Regions from separate parts of the Homo sapiens genome. Here region 1 is linked to region 2. The links are contacts of gene promoters, found by promoter capture Hi-C in blood cells and fetal thymus (Javierre and others, 2016). All regions are on one chromosome and are shown on one strand. The core of a region is centred on a gene start or on the middle of the fragment in contact, and the rest is flanking DNA. Distances in the headings are between cores, read along the strand shown. Region 1 overlaps ZNF317 (zinc finger protein 317). Region 2 holds the start of ZNF561 (zinc finger protein 561).

What was found. The method cuts DNA at HindIII sites, captures the fragments that hold promoters and counts their contacts. A CHiCAGO score of 5 or more calls a contact.
Region 1: a contact is called between a fragment that was not itself captured here and the fragment with the promoter of ZNF561 in region 2, in 1 of 17 cell types (M0 macrophages). The highest score is 7.4, in M0 macrophages.

Annotation. Positions count from the first base shown.
Region 1 is chr19:9,150,455-9,153,154 of GRCh38, forward strand. The region is part of intron 1 of ZNF317 (zinc finger protein 317); the gene reads left to right. Among named protein-coding and RNA genes, the nearest start is that of ZNF317, 11 kb to the left of the region's middle. The HindIII fragment of the contact is 1,338 bases long and covers 636-1,973 here.
Region 2 is chr19:9,619,945-9,622,644 of GRCh38, forward strand. ZNF561 (zinc finger protein 561) reads right to left here and starts at 1,288. Exons shown (of 6, transcript NM_152289.3): 1 at 1,218-1,288. It overlaps ZNF561-AS1 (ZNF561 antisense RNA 1), which reads left to right and starts at 1,538. Exons shown (of 4, transcript NR_122038.1): 1 at 1,538-1,701. RefSeq lists enhancers at 467-1,049, 1,198-1,617. The HindIII fragment of the contact is 2,809 bases long and covers 1-1,640 here.

The sequences.
Region 1 (2,700 bases), core at 55-2,554, 470 kb before region 2:
CTACTGAGGCCTCAGGGACAGGGAGACCTTCACAGAAGTGCAATCAGAACCTGGGTGTCAGCACCTCCAAATGGTGGGGGTGTTTCACAATGTGGACCTGTGGGAGATGGGGGAGAGGGGCCCAGGGGAACCCTGACCTTTAGGGGCTGGGCAGAGGAGGGATCTCAAGCCAGAGTCTTCAAAAGAGCAACCAGAGATGTGAGCACAGACTGGGATGAGTGGGCTATGGCTGCAAGAGCAGTGGCATTCCCAGGAAGAGGGAGATAGATTCATAGTGAGCAAGATGATGTGTCAGGAGGTCAGGCAAAGGAAGGGTCAAGATGTAGTGTCAAGGAGTTCCCACATAGGGGACAGTACAGGTGACATAGGTCACTTTGAGAGGCAACAAGATGTGGCTCCGCAGTCACGTCAGCTGGGCTCACAACTTCCACCTATGACCTTGACCAAGTGTCTCGGACCCTTGGTGCCTTATTCTCTGGGTACTTGAGAATAATTCCGGGAGGTTGTGAGGATTAAATAGGAGTGGCCCTGGAAAGACTCAGGAGAATGTCTCATACCTTGTAAACACTACACATGTCGTTATTTGTAGAATTGGCATTAATGTTGGTGGGGAAAGGTGGAATGGGACCTGCAGAAGCTTGTTAGTTGAGCATGAATGAATGAATGGTAGGTGAGGATGGAGATACTGTGCCTCAGGAACTGAGCCTCTGTCACCCTCTCTCCCCTTCCTCAGCAGTGACTTAATGTCAGAACCCAAAGGCACAATGACTAGAAAAGGGCTTTGTAAAAAGAATGAAAGCGTCATGCATCTTTGAGTTGGCCCAAGATCAAATTTGGTGTTGAATAATGAATCCCCAAGGCAGAGTTTATACGTTAAAACACACTTCCTATATTATTGTTTTGAAATGTTTCTGAATATCTAAAACAATTCCAATAGCAGAAATACTAATTGATGTTGAAAAAGATTGTTATAACCCTGGTAATGTTTAAAAGTGGTAATATTGATTATTGATCTGAGTCAGATGTTAAAGTAGCAGCGTCACGGTTCTTACATCAGTGCTGTCATGAGAGTCGCGGTGGAAGCCAGAGAGAGGAGGCATGTTCATACAAAGCAAATTAAATCCCCTCCCGAGGTGTGGGCCACCATACCTCACCAATGTATTGTGGTTTTGATGTTATTTCCTTAATGACTGATGTTGTTAATCATCTTTTCATGTGTTTACAGTTCATTTCTGTAAATTTGGAGAAATGTCTGTTCTGTTCAAGTCTCCTGCCCACTTTTTTACTGGGTTGTCTTTGTTGTTGAGTTTATAATGATATTAAATCCCTATCACATACATGATTTGCAAATATTTTCCACCATTCTGTGTCTCATTCACTTTCTTGATAATGTCCTTGATGTTAATTCTAAATGTTTGGTAGGGTTCACCAGTGAAGCCCCTTGGTCCTGGACTTTTTTTTTTTTTTTTTGAGACGGAGTCTTGCTCTGTCGCCCAGGCTGGAGTGCAGTGGCGCAATCTCGGCTCACTGCAAGCTCCGCCTCCCAGGTTCACACCATTCTCCTGCCTCAGCCTCCCGAGTAGCTGGGACTACAGGCACTCATCACCACGCCTGGCTAATTTTTTGTATTTTTAGTAGAGATGGGGTTTTACCGTGTTAGCCAGGATGGTCTCGATCTCCTGACCTCCTGATCCACCCGCCTCGGCCTCCCAAAATGCTGGGATTACAGGCGTGAGCCACCGTGCCCAGCTGGTCCTGGACTTTTTATTTAATGGCTTTTGATGACTGCCTCAGTCTCTTGTTATAGGTCTCTCAATTTTCTTTTTCTTCTAGAGCCTGTTTGGGTATGTTTCAAGGAATTTGATACATCTAGAGCATTGATCCCCAAGCCCTGGGCCACAGACAGGTACCGGTCCCTGGCCTTTTAGGAACAAGGCCCTGCCGCAGGAGGTGAGCGGAGGGCAAGTGAGTGAAGCTTCATCTGTATTTACAGCGGCTCCCCATCACTCACATTACCCCTGAACTCCACCTCCTGTCAGATCATCAGCAGCATTAGATTCTCATAGGGGCGCAGACCCTATTGTGCACTGCACATGCAAGGGATCTAGATTGCACACTCCTTATGAAAATCTAATGCCTGATGATCTGTCAGTGTCTCCCATCACCTCCAGATGGGACCATCTAGTTTCAGGAAAACACTCTCAGGGCTTCCACTAATTCTATATTATGGTGAGTTGTATAATTATTTTACCATATATTACAATGTAATAATAATAGAAATAAAGTGCACAATAAATGTAATGCACTCAAGTCATCCCAAAACCATCCCCCCTCACCTCACCATCCATGGAAAAATTGTCTTCCATGACACCAGTCTCTGATGCCAAATTGGGTGGGGACTGCTAGTGTAGATGATCTAATGTGTTGGTGCATAATTGTTCATGGCATTCTCTTACAGCCCTTTGAATTTCCGTAAGGTCGGTAGTAATGTCCCACTTCCACTGATGATTTTAGTTACTTGCATCTTTTTTTGTTAGTAATTCTAGCTGTAGTTTTGTCACCTTTGTTGATCTTTTTGAAAGAACCAACTTTTGTTTTCATTAATTCTCCTATTCTCTATTTCATTTGTCTCTGCTTTAATCTTTATTTCTTCACTTTTGCTTTCCCTAGGTTTAGTGTGTCAAGGTAGTTGTTTTTGTT
Region 2 (2,700 bases), core at 38-2,537:
TCGAGACAGGGTCTCACTCTGTTGCCCAGGTTGAAATCCAATGGCACTAACACAACTCTCTGTAGCCTAGACTTCCCGGGCTCAAGTGATCCTCCCACTTCAGCCTCCTGAATAGCTGGGACCATAGGTGCGTATCATCACTCATTATTATTATTATTATTTTGAGACAGAGTCTCACTCTGTTGCCCAGGCTGGAATGCAGTGGCATGATCTCAACTCATTGCAACCTCTGCCTCCCAGGTGCAAGCGATTATCAGGCCTCAGCCTCCCGAGTAGCTGGGATTTCAGGTATGCACTACCATGCCTGGCTAATTTTTGCATTTTTAGTAGAGACGCAGTTTCGCCATATTGGCCAGGCTGGTCTTGAACTCCTGGCCTTAAGTGATTCTCCCACTTCAGCCCCCCAACTAGCTGGGACTACAGGTGCACACCACTGGGTCCGGCTAATTTTTTGTAGTTTTAGTAGAGACAAGTTTTCACCAGATTGCCTAGGCTAGTCTCAAACTCCTGGGCTCAAACAATCCTCCTGACTTGGCCTCCCAAAGTGCTGGGATAATAAGCATAAGCCACGATGCCTGGCCCATTACTTCTATTTAATACTGAAAAAAACCTACACTCAAACAACCCTAGTAGTCGGTCTGATACTTGTCCCTAGAGCCTGATCTCCTGTATATGGTGTTACCCCCCCGCCATATGACCAGAAGACAGTGCAGACCTGCACAGAACAATTCAGTAGTCACCAGCCACGTGTGTTATTGATAACTTCATTACGTACCTAAGATGACTTAAGAACAAAATCTAAAATTTTCAAAAGTCGGCCGGGTGCAGTGGCTCACACCTATAATCCCAGCACTTTGGGGGACCGAGGCAGACAGATCACCTAAGGTCAGGAGTTCAAGACCAGCCTGGCCAACATGGCAAAACCATCTCTACTAAAGATAGAAAAAGTAGCCGGGCGTGGTGGCACTTGCCTGTAATCCCAGGTACTCGGAAGGCTGAGGCAGGAGAACTGCTTGACCCTGGAGGCAGAGGTTGCAGAGGTTGCAGTGAGCCGAGAGAGCGCGCAGCCTCTCCGAACTGGACGCACAGGGAGGACTGATAGTCCCTGGAGAAGCGAGTGAAGTGAAGCGGATCTGAGAGGCTCCTAGGCGACAGCGCGCAATCATTCCTTTGCCGCCCCCTGCTATCCCCGGGACCGCCAAGGAGGTGGAACTCACCACAGCCTGGGCAGACTCCACCACCATAAAGGCGAAACCGCACTGACGGAGAGGAGCCAGCGCCGGAAAAGATGGCGGTGGTGCGCTGACGTCACTTCCGCTTCAACACTCTGGCCGGGCGAGGCTCGTGGGCTCCAGTTTCAGCCACGTAGGACCGGGTAGAACACAGAAATTCTAGTTTCCTCTCGGGTGGGTGCAGAAAGGGCCTGGGGTTGGCTCAGGGAGGGGGATGCAGAACTAGGTCCAGAGAAAAAGGTGAGGTTAGAACCGGGCCTCCAGACGGAACTGTGGGCGAGGGGAGGGGCTCGTACTCGGGGGGTGATTTAGAGGAGGGACCCGGCCTAGCCGGTGGTTCAGGTGGCCGGTCGGGCTGGAAGGGCGGGGATGAGGGATGGGACGCATCCCCGGGGGATGCTCCTCCAAAGCTTTTATCGGGCGAGCGCAGTGGCTCACGCCTGTAATTCCTGCACTTTGGGAGGCTAAGGTAGGTAAATAGCTTGAGTCTGCTGGGAATGGGTGCTCGCTTGGTGTCACAAAATCAACACTGAGACAAAGGATCTCAGCAAGGCTAGTTTTACTTTCTGCAGAATGGGTGCCACTGGCTGGCAGTCTTGCCACCAGAGCACACATTAACAAAGGAGACAGGGTTTTTTTAAACTTGAAGTGTCCATCCTTCTGCTGTGTCCAGCTTCCATTGGCTGGAACGGGACCTCACCTTCCTGTACTTCACTGGATTGGCTAGCAACTTAGAACTTCCCAAAAGAGGCAATGGCAGAGGAGAACAAAGGAAGAGAGGAAGTAACTTGTGGACTGTTGAGAGAGGCAAAAACACTTCTAAATAGGGAAAGGAATAGGCCATGACCTAATAGTTGCTTGGACCAGTTCAGGCATGCCAGGGCAAATATCTAGGCTAAAATGTGGGAGCTAAAAACAGAGTCTATTGATTTCTTTATTACGGCTGGCAGAATTTAACAATATTACCACAGGTCTTTGAGAAAATTTGGCTTCTAAGAGGGATTACTATTTATTTCAATCAGACTGGGAGGAAAGTCCCTTTGAAGAGGAACCTGTATTTATTTCATTTTCTACAAGTCCAAGAGTTTGAGACCAGCCTGGGCAAAGTAGCAAGACCCTGTCTCTCTCTCTCTCTCTCTCTCTATATATATATATATAAACATATATGTATAAATACATATAAATATATAAATATATAAAAAATATATAAATATACATGTTCAAAATGCTTGTTCCCTGGTGCCATAAAGAAATTAGCACTTGAACATAAATTTAATTTACTCAGCAAGGCCATTTTTACTTCCTGCAGAAACGGTATACTCACCAGCAGTTTTGCCACGAGAGTACACCAAACAAAGGAGATAGGGTCATTTATAACCTGATGCTTCCAACCTACTGCTGTGTCCAGTTTCCACTGGCTGGAATGGGACCTCACGTTCTGGCTAGCAACTTATAACTTTTTAAAAGA